Linked DNA regions of Homo sapiens: all the other regions are linked to region 2. Evidence: promoter capture Hi-C in 16 types of primary human blood cells and fetal thymus (Javierre and others, 2016). All regions are on one chromosome and are shown on one strand. Each heading gives the region's core, a stretch centred on a gene start or on the middle of the fragment in contact. The rest is flanking DNA. Distances are from core to core; before and after follow the strand shown.

Region 1 (3,588 bases), core at 695-3,194, 1.3 Mb after region 2:
TAGTCGCAGTTACTCCGGAGGCTGAGGCAGGAGAATTGCCTGAATCCAGGAGGTGGAGGTTGCAGTGAGTTGAGATAGTGCCAGTGCACTCCAGCCTGGGTGACAGCAACACTCCATCTCAAAATAAAATAAAATAAAATAACCTGTGTTCTTCACAGCAACAAAATTATTTTTGTTTGTTTTGTTTTGTTTTGCAGTTAGTGTGACTCTGGATCCAGATACAGCTCATCACGAACTAATTCTCTCTGAGGATCGGAGACAAGTGACTCGTGGATACACCCAGGAGAATCAGGACACATCTTCCAGGAGATTTACTGCCTTCCCCTGTGTCTTGGGTTGTGAAGGCTTCACCTCAGGAAGACGTTACTTTGAAGTGGATGTTGGCGAAGGAACCGGATGGGATTTAGGAGTTTGTATGGAAAATGTGCAGAGGGGCACTGGCATGAAGCAAGAGCCTCAGTCTGGATTCTGGACCCTCAGGCTGTGCAAAAAGAAAGGCTATGTAGCACTTACTTCTCCCCCAACTTCCCTTCATCTGCATGAGCAGCCCCTGCTTGTGGGAATTTTTCTGGACTATGAGGCCGGAGTTGTATCCTTTTATAACGGGAATACTGGCTGCCACATCTTTACTTTCCCGAAGGCTTCCTTCTCTGATACTCTCCGGCCCTATTTCCAGGTTTATCAATATTCTCCTTTGTTTCTGCCTCCCCCAGGTGACTAAGGAAAAGAGCAGAAGCTCCTTGGTTTAACCAGCACAGAGAAAATAATATAAATCCCATAAGGGCAGACGTTTGGTCTGTTTTCTTCGCTGTCATTTCCTTAGTAGTTAGACTAGTGCTGAGATTTTAGTGGATATATAATTGATTTATGTTGAATATATGGACTTAGCAACTAAAAATACCACAGATGGTTAACCTGGACTGGGGCAAAGCAAGATAATAGTGATGATCGTATGTTGCTGTCTCCATCCGTCTTTAATGGGTCAGGGCTTTGATTTCCAAGGGTCTTCAGGTGATGAGTAGGGGTACCCACAAGTCAGAAGGTCTGCGTTCTCCTAGTTTGTTTGCTGCCATTTGAACTCATGTAGGGAATGAAAGAAAGCTGCAATTATCCGCCAACTGCATTTAAAACAAAACAAAACAGAAAAATCAAAATAACATTGACTCTTCCAACCACTGACATGTTGTTTAATAATCTAAGCGGCAGTCCTGGAGGCTACCAGACTTACTGAGTTCTACCTGAGAAACAGCCAAGCAAAGTGTGAGAGAAGGGTTAAGACTGGCTTACAATGAGATGCTTCAAATGAAAAGGGAATTATGAGTAAAATTGAACTTTGATGGGGGATTCAGTTCTGGAAAAGAATTTGGTATTTTCCAGTCTGCTAGGACCAATTACCTTGAAATATTTTAAAATCTCAGTAAATAGTTATTGCTGAAATGGCTGTTGGCAGTTCTTATTATGATTCAGAGAAGAGCAAATAGACCTTAACTTCATTTTGAAAAAGACCAAATTACCATACCCGAGTGAGTAATGACAGGACTACAACTAAAACATAAACAACATTAATGATGACCATAAAAAGTCACAAAATTGCTAAATGTTATAATTTAGAGTTGACATAAAAATTGATGGCCAGGCATGGTGGCTCACGCCTGTAATCCCAGAACTATGTGAGGCTGAGGCAGGTGGATCACTTGAGGTCAGGAGTTCAACACCAGCCTGGCCAACATGGTGAAACCCTGTCTCTACTAAAAATACAAAAATTAGCCGGGCATGGTGGTAGGGGCCTGTAACCCAGCTACTCGTGAGGCCAAGGCAGGAGAATTGCTTGAGCCTGCAGCAGCTGCAGTAAGCCAAGATCATGCTGTGCCTCAAGGAAAAAAAAAATTAATGTTTACTGATATTTGTTGAAGTCCTACAACATCACCTCTGAGAATAGGAGAAATGAAGCAACAGTTGTGTCTAGATGTCAGAGGCATGGCTGGGCCTCCATCTCTGCCTAAGGGAGATATAAAAGAGTTCAAACTATTGCCCATGTTCCCCAGGGTCAGAAGTTCTAATTATGATGATAGAGGCTGGGTTGTAAGTAGTAAGTGAAGGGTAGCAGAATATGCCATCTTTGGCATAAGAAGTATTTTGAGTTGAAGACAATTGAGAAAAAAAATAGATTAAAAACAAACAAACACCTCTGCCCTCTCCCTATTTGCCTAAAAGCAGGATATGAAATTGTGAAGGTGTCTTCTTACTCGGGGAAGAACAAAAGTTAGTCACCAGAGACTTTAGACTCTTATCAGCCTGGACATAGCACCAGAGAAGTCTTTTTTTTTAAAAAAAAAAAAAAAAAAAGGGAAAGAAAAAGTTGCCTTCCCACAATTTACTGCACTAGAAACTCAAAGTCCTTTTCGTCTTCCTTGTCACTTAAAAAATGTATTCTTTTCTTAAAATGCTATATAAGCCCAAGTTCTAAATCCTCTTTTGAGTATTCATCTCAGTACTCCCCTGTGTTTGTACAATGCACATGCTTTGTTTCTGTCTTGTCAATCTGTCTTTTGTTAGTCTACTTGATAGGGCCACAGATGGAGAACCTAAGATGAATAGAAAAAAAAGATTTTTCTCCCCAACAGAAGGATTATCGCCAGTTGCACTTGTTCTATATACCCGTAGTCTCGGTATGCTGACCCAGACTTGGGTAATAGGACCCAGTGGGTAACCGAGGAACCCCACCTTTGTGCAGGATCAGTGAAGATGTAATCTGGATATTCATAAGCTCTTCTCTACCTCTTGGCATCCCACAGTCCTGTGTTAATGTAAGTGTGGTCTTCCCCAGAAAGGGGAGGCCTCCCTAACATTGTTAAAGCCTAGCATATGCTGCTTAGAGGAAATTCTATATCCCTAAGCACTTAGATTGCTGAATAAGAAAGAATGATAATAAAATAAACAATTAAATAAAAGTTTTAAAAAATGAATAAAATAAACCTGTGGAAACTATAAGGAAGGCCAGAAGAAATATAAAATTGGAGATTAATTGGGGTGCAGGAAAGTTATGGAAAGAATATAAGTCCTGCTAGATAAATCATTAGCTATTTTAATAAAGAATACAGAAGAAAATAGGAACAAAAGAATATATACTGGAATAATTTTGAGAGTAATTTGAAGAATTAGATGCAAATAAATTTGAAAACCTTTAAAAAGAAACCAATGGCCTAACTGACCCAAGAAGGGAAAGAAAATCTAAACAGACTGATAAATACAAAATGAAATTCAGACACTTACAGAGCAGCCAGGCATGGTGGCTCACACCTGTAATCCTGTCACTTTGGGAGGCTGAGATGGGAGGATCACTTGAGGCTAGGAGTTTGAGACTAGCCTGGGCAAGGCTCCCATCTCTAAAAGAAAAGAAATTAGCTGGGCATGGTGGCATGTGCCTTAGTTTCAGCTACTCAGGAGGCTGAGACGAGGATTGCTTGAGCCTAGGAGGGCAAGGCTGCAGTGAGCCATGGTCATGCCACTGAATTCCAGCCTAAGTGACAGAGCAAGACCTTGTCTCAAAAAAAAAAAAAAAAAAAGTTACAGAGCTCCAACTAAATA
Region 2 (3,499 bases), core at 985-3,484:
CACCATTTGGCCAGGCTGGCCTTGAACTCCTGACCTCAAGTGATCCGCCTGCCTCAGCCTCCCAAAGTGCTGGGATTACAGCCGTGAGCCACTGCACCCAGCCAAAACCATCAATATTTGAAAGACTAAAAAGAAGCACACCAAGTTCTCTTTTAATACTACTCAAGACCAAGTACGCATCACTAAACTACTTTTTAAAATTCTGTACTATTAAGTATATATCATGAATTATTCAGGGCAACTGCATGGACACTGTCCATTCACAGAATAAAACCAGATTATCGTTGGTGTTAAAGAATTAAGATGGTGCAATTTGGGGCAATATATAGATTAAATACAAAGATATGGTCTCACTACTTATTATCTTGGATTTATTTAAAGAGCATACACTGTATCATCTTCAACTAAAATCCAATCTCATCAATTTTGAGTCAGCTTGTCAACAAAACAAAAGTGGAGATGTAAGTCCTTGATACCACCCAATCTTGGGACAGTCACTTCAAAAATTACTTAAAAATCACTTCACAATGCTATACTTCAGCAGCTAAGAATGTTCTTAAATACAAATAACCTTTTAGGAGTTAAGAGTTGGGGCTGTGCGTGGCAGCTCCTGCCTGTAATCCCAGCACTTTAAAATGCCATGACAGGAGGATCACTTTAGCCCAGGAGTTCAAGACTAGCCTGGGCAATACAGTGAGGCCTGTCTCAGCAACAAAAATAATAAGAGTTAAACAGTAGGGGGAAACCTGGAAAACTTCCAGATACTTAATAGATACCACACTAAGATTGTATTTCTGATCTGAAATTAGCTAACAATTTAAGCACCAAAATCCAAGTAGCACTTCCTTACATTCATAACCTCATCTTTGGTCAAATAAGCCTTGCTGATAATTTAAGAAAATGTTCATTTTAAGTTGCAAAAAATACTGCTCTTATCATCCCATCCTTGACTACTCACAACTTACTGTTTGCTATTTAACTGCGGAACTAATTCTGATTAAGACCTCCACCGCCCCTAAAAATGAAACTTCCTCTAGGTCATTTTGAGTTTTTAAAAACTGTACTTCTATACAAGGCAAAATGAACTCTAAGTAAAAAAGAAAATCACACTTCTAAACACAAATTAACCATTTCAGTATTTAATTGCTCCTAAAAGGTGTATTCTACTTCATTAAATGTAAGAGAAAAGGTTACCTACATTACGCAGTTTAAGAAACAGGATAAACTTTAGCATATAAACAGTCTGATTACAATTTCACACTTTCAACCATCTTATTTATACTCTACATTAGATAATCTTTAAATTCCATCATAAGGTTTCCCATGTTAACTCCATATAAAATTTTGTAATCTTGCCCACCCCATGTCAACTCAGTGTATACTACTACTAAGCTTCAGACTCAAATTTATTTCCAAACCAAAGAACGCTCAAGGGTCTTTTCGCATGCTGCAACTGCTCAATTCACAGAATCACCCCTAAGGGTGAAAAAACAGAGCATACAAAGCAGACTTTTTTTCAACCACTCTTTAACCTAATATTCATAATAATTTAAGAGTAACAAATAATATACACTTACAAAAATTACTTGTGCTAATTCACCATTAAGAACTTTAAATTACCTTCTCCTTGAATACAAAGGCAATATACATCTTGAAGTCAAACTGGTCAGCTAGAGATTCTTTTTTCTTTCTAAGCTGAGCACGTAGTCTGTTCAGAGCTTGTTTCTTCCGGGAGTTTGGGTCCCCCATTTTGAAATACAGGTGGTACTAAAGCCTTTGGAAATTGTCACTAAACTATGGGCACTTTTTCTTAAGACTCAAGTACAACAGAAACAAGTCATTTTTTTTCCTGCTAATATGATTGATTAGCGAAAATCACGACTATAACCCAAAAACTGCACCTTCTGTCAATATTAGCAGACTGTCATATTACAGGGTCAAGAAACAAAAGCTGCTGTCCAGTCATGTTTGGACAATAACGTTTGGGGTCAGACGGGAAAAAGGGAGGAAAGAAAGGAAAGAAAGAGGAGAAAATAACTAACTTTCTGGAAAACACATTTGGCTTAACTGCCAAAATAAAGGCTTTGCGGAGAAATGAAAAGCCTATAATCAGGATTTAGGTGTGCAATAAAACACAGCTGACACCAGACCAATCCCTAAAATCCATCCGGATTTTCCCCCCTTTTTAGAAAAGGGATTAAGGAACAGGGAGGGGGAAGTGTGATCCTTGCTTTCCAAAAAAAAAAAAAAAAAAAACTCACCAAAACCAAAACCAAAACCAAACACCAAAACAGGGTAGGTGAATGAAACTGAAATATCCAATTAGATTTTACCCAGCCAGCTCCATGGCTGTAGTACCTAATTCTTAGTTATTTCAGATTTCACTATTGCTATGTATTGTCAGTGCTTGTTATTGATTACACTTGGTGGTGAGCATAGAGAAAAGTGCAAAATCGGTAGAGAAGGAAAGGGAGAGGTACAGGGTTTCCCTGCAATCAACTACAGTGTATACCGGGGGCGGGCAGCTGTGGCCCAAAGGAGCCATGAGAAAAAACAGCGGAGTCATTACCAACTTCCCCATCACCCACATTTTCACCCTCAGGCGGCTGCTAACGCTGCTGCCAAGGAGAATCATGACGGCAGAAGGAAAAGGGGTATATAATACGGTATTAATTATTCCGGCTCTGTGGTTAGACCTGATTAATGCCCGGGTTCCCAACACCCCCAGCCTGCAACTAGTCCTACATTCCCCAAGGGAGACTTCCCTGTGGATCTGCCCCCGTTCAAAATGGTGGGGAGTGCGATTTATCTTCTTGTGAGCATTGCCGAGGCAAAGGTGGCGGGTTCTTCTCCCAAATCCCAGGCGGTGCCCGGAGACCACCTGCCTTCCACCCCCGCAGGTCCCACCCCCACCCCTTGCCTTCAGCGGCAGCGACTCACTCGCACCACGGGAGACACAGGATCACTCAGGTTTTCACTCATTTCATCGTGGAAACAATTCCCGCCCGGGTGGAGTGGGCGGGAGAGGGTAAATGGGAAGGTTCAGTGGGGGAAAAAAAGAAAATAATTGTGTTAATATTACTTCTAAAGTAAGCCCACCCACCCTCCCCCCAAAAAATTAAGTTCCCGGATTAGCTCTCTCTCACGTTGAACAGACCATGTTTCCAGAGTTTGGATTGTTTAGGGTGGGGTCGTTAGTTGTTTCCCGAGGGGCAGGGGGTGGAATTGAGGCAGCTAGGGCGGGGTGGGTGACGGGGAAATCCCCTCCCTGTCCCCGCGGAGCCCGGGACTCACGGACCGACTCTAGGGCGGGGTTTGGGCCCTCTAGCCGCAGCCTGCGGGCGGAGCGGTGGCGGCGGCGGAAGAGGCGGCGGCGGCGGGGGCGCTGCTGGTAGCACGGGCAGGAGCCATGTCAAGAGAAAACCACCAGCCAACTGAGCCCCTCCATCCCCGCTGCAGTGCGCACCGTGACTGGACCGCCCGCGCTGCTGCCGCCGCT
Region 3 (3,600 bases), core at 845-3,344, 1.2 Mb after region 2:
TGGTCCAAGGTAACTTTCTGTGATAACAGAATGTTGTATATTGAGGCTGTTATGTAGCCACTAGTCACATGCAACTATTAAGCAATCAAAATGTGGCAACTGGAACAGAAAAACTGAATTTTTTCATTTTAATTTTTATTAAGTTAAATTTAAATTCCTACTCATGATAGTGGCTACTGTATTAGCTATACAGCTAGATGTTTGTGTATCCTCTAAATTCCAATGCATTTCTTCTTTCTGGAGAGAAGACTTTAGCTGGACATGGTGGCACATACCTGTAGTCCCAGCCACTCTGCCAGGGTGAGGCAGGAGGATTGCTTAAACCCAGGAGGTCGAGGCTGCAGTGAGCTGTGGTCATGCCACTGCCCTCCACTACAGCCTGGGCAAGAGAGCGAGAACTTGTCTTATAAGAAAAGAAAAAGAGGCTGGGCACGGTGGCTCATGCCTGTAATCCTGGCACTTTGGGAGGCTGAGGCGGGTGGATCACAAGGTCAAGAGATCGAGCCAACCAACATGGTGAAACCCCATCTCTACTAAAAATACAAAAATTAGCTGGGCGTAGTGGTGCACACCTGTAGACCCAGCTACTACTCGGGAGGCTGAGGCAGGAGAATCGCTTGAACCCGGGAGGCGGAGGTGCAGTGAGCCGAGATAGCGTCACTGCACTCCAGCCTGGGTGACAGAGTGAGACTCCGTCTCATTAAAAAAAAAAAAAAAAGTTAGAAGACTGAGAAAAGAAAAATAATGAAATAATTTAGAGCAGTCTGAGCTATGTGAGGTATGCAAAATTTATCAGGACAAGTGAGGCAGGAGTATAGGTCTTCAGTTAAGACCCCATGTTTAAAAGCATTTTGTTCCTGACTGGCTGCCTCATCTATTACCTACATATTCCCGAGATTTGTAATACAAAGAACAATGTATAGCCAGTCAAAAGCTTATGCTATTTTAATGTAAATTCTTGGCAAACAACTTTAAAACTGCTTTAAAACTGCTTTTTTTCCTCTAAACAACCACTTGTAACTGCTTGCTAATGAGGGCAACTTGAAACTCTGCACTTGGGTTGCAGTTCTCAAACGTGGCCCAAACAACCTCAGCCTCAACTTCTTCCTTTTAGGTCCTCTTTTCTTCAATACAAAATGAGATAATAGGGGTTGGAAGGAAAACCTTCAAGACCTATGGAAGTCAGTTGCAGCCAGCTCATCACATAGAGGTGCAGGTGAGGTGTATTTTCATCACGGTGGAAAATTCTGGCTGCTTCATCTCCATCTCTAGAGCCAATATTGGAGCTTTTCAATAAAAGCTATGGCCTCAACCACCAGCACCAAGAAGATGATGGAGGAAGCCACCTGCTCCATCTGCCTGAGCCTGATGACGAACCCAGTAAGCATCAACTGTGGACACAGCTACTGCCACTTGTGTATAACAGACTTCTTTAAAAACCCAAGCCAAAAGCAACTGAGGCAGGAGACATTCTGCTGTCCCCAGTGTCGGGCTCCATTTCATATGGATAGCCTCCGACCCAACAAGCAGCTGGGAAGCCTCATTGAAGCCCTCAAAGAGACGGATCAAGAAATGTCATGTGAGGAACACGGAGAGCAGTTCCACCTGTTCTGCGAAGACGAGGGGCAGCTCATCTGCTGGCGCTGTGAGCGGGCACCACAGCACAAAGGGCACACCACAGCTCTTGTTGAAGACGTATGCCAGGGCTACAAGGTGAGTGTGTGGGCCCGGGAGCTTTGGTAAGTACCAAGTCTTATCCTGCTCCCCAGGAGCTGAGATGATTTAACTTGAAACCTAACATTATGACTTGGAAATACAGCTTTCATCATGTCATTCTTCTGAAAAATAGTTTATGATGATTTCTTGCTCAATTATCTAGACTGTCCATCCTGACCTTCAATGGGATGGTTGGACTCTTATCTCTATCCATTTGTGTTATGATGAATTTCTTTTTGCTTTAGAACAGGTTGTTCTCAAACCAAACACCCGCATTTTTTCTTGTTTCACACCATGAATATCATTTGAAAAACCACAATATGTAAAGCCATGCAGTAGGGCCTGAAAACAGGGAAGAAAGACCCATCACCTTTTAGGTATCTACAGTCTAGTAAAGAAAACAAACCATCAAAAATGTCTGCCTGGAGGTCCCTGGTTTTGGTGGTGGGGAGGGACATTTAGGGTAGAGAGTGGTTCATCTTAGAAGTAACTCCTGAAGGACACGTAAAAATTGAACACCTATTGGGGGATTTTCATTTGGGGAATGAAGGGTCAGTGACATTGAAAATATCACTCTGGTACCTCTACTTTTTTTTTTTTTTTTTTTTTTTTTTCCTGAGGTAGGGTCTTGCTCTGTATCCCAGGTTGGAGTACAATGGTGCAATCTCGGCTCACTGCAGCCTCAACCTTCTGGGGCTCAAGCAATCCTCCCACCTCAGCCTCCCAAGTAGCTAGGACTACAGGGATGCCCCACCATACCTGGATAATTTTTTTATTTTTTGTAGAGACATGGTCTGCCTTTCTTGCTTATACTGGCCTCAAACCCCTGGTCTCCCTCCCATCTCAGCCTCCCAAAATGCTGGGATTAGAGGCATGAACCACTGTGCCCAGCTACTGTGGCATGTCTATGATAAAAGGAATATCAAGGAGTAAAATTCAAACTATCCGTATAAGAAAGGGAGGAGAGGGCAGATTTTAAGCACGATTCAGGAAGAAGAGTCAAAGATTTGGAAATGCTTGGTTGTGGAAGGTGAAGCAGAGGGAGAGGTTTTGTGTACCATCCAGATTTCTTGCCAGAAAGCATATTAAGGAAGGTGGGACTTTGCTGTTGGCAGCATGGAGGAATGGGCATAGTCCTGATGTCCTTTTTCCTTCTCTGTCCTGCCTAAATTTGAGGAAAATGTTGTCTCCAGTGTCAGGCTCCTTATTCTGTCCTCCATGAGGCAGAGGTGGTCTTGTATGAAGGCTCTAAGTCCTTCTAAGGACATGTCAATCATGACCACCACTCAGCTCATGGCAGCTCTTCCTTAAACTCCATGGAGCAGCTAATAACTGCGATGATCATATTCCCATTTGAATTACTTTTCCACCAAGTAGTAAGAAAAGGAACCAGCTTATGTTGAAATTGAGTTTTGTCACTTACTAGATGGGCAATTTTGGGCACGTTACTTAATGTCTTCACACCTTGGTTTCTCCATCTGTAAATGGGGATAATAGCAGTGTCCTCCCTCCCTAAAACACATACACAGGAGGTGGTTATAAGCTTTGAGGACATTAAAATATAGAATGCATAGAATAGCACTTGGCATATAGTAAGGACAATGTCATCTTTTGCTAAAACAGTTACATAGAACCTTTTCCTGAGAACACTCGAGAATGAATGAGTATACTTGTTGGGTTTACAGAGGACAGGAGACAATTCTTTCAGCATTGACTACAATTAGCAATTTGGGTCAGCTTCAAATCACTTTCAATAGAAATATGAGAAACTGTTTTGAAGAATAAGCTAAAAGCTTGACATGAATACTAAATCATTTTAAATTGGATTCATGATACCATTGTTCAAAAGATACCAGAATTCCCCTCTTCCATGAACTGTTTCTA

The links. Contacts are between HindIII fragments. The CHiCAGO score rates a contact against its expected background, and 5 or more counts as called.
Region 1: a contact is called between a fragment that was not itself captured here and the fragment with the promoter of C6orf62 in region 2, in 1 of 17 cell types (endothelial precursors). The highest score is 6.2, in endothelial precursors.
Region 3: a contact is called between a fragment that was not itself captured here and the fragment with the promoter of C6orf62 in region 2, in 2 of 17 cell types (total B cells and non-activated CD4 T cells). The highest score is 8.6, in total B cells.

The regions. Positions count from the first base shown.
Region 1 is chr6:25,982,967-25,986,554 of GRCh38, forward strand. It overlaps TRIM38 (tripartite motif containing 38), which reads left to right. Exons shown (of 8, transcript NM_006355.5): 8 at 198-3,588. The coding sequence ends at 721. Among named protein-coding and RNA genes, the nearest start is that of LINC02980, 7.9 kb to the right of the region's middle. The HindIII fragment of the contact is 4,548 bases long and covers 1-3,588 here.
Region 2 is chr6:24,716,920-24,720,418 of GRCh38, forward strand. It overlaps C6orf62 (chromosome 6 open reading frame 62), which reads right to left and starts at 2,235. Exons shown (of 5, transcript NM_030939.5): 1 at 1,621-2,235. The coding sequence starts at 1,749. RefSeq lists an enhancer at 2,916-3,499 and a silencer at 3,279-3,448. The HindIII fragment of the contact is 3,349 bases long and covers 1,391-3,499 here.
Region 3 is chr6:25,965,221-25,968,820 of GRCh38, forward strand. It overlaps TRIM38 (tripartite motif containing 38), which reads left to right. Exons shown (of 8, transcript NM_006355.5): 3 at 1,115-1,713. The coding sequence starts at 1,303. Among named protein-coding and RNA genes, the nearest start is that of TRIM38, 4.2 kb to the left of the region's middle. The HindIII fragment of the contact is 2,325 bases long and covers 933-3,257 here.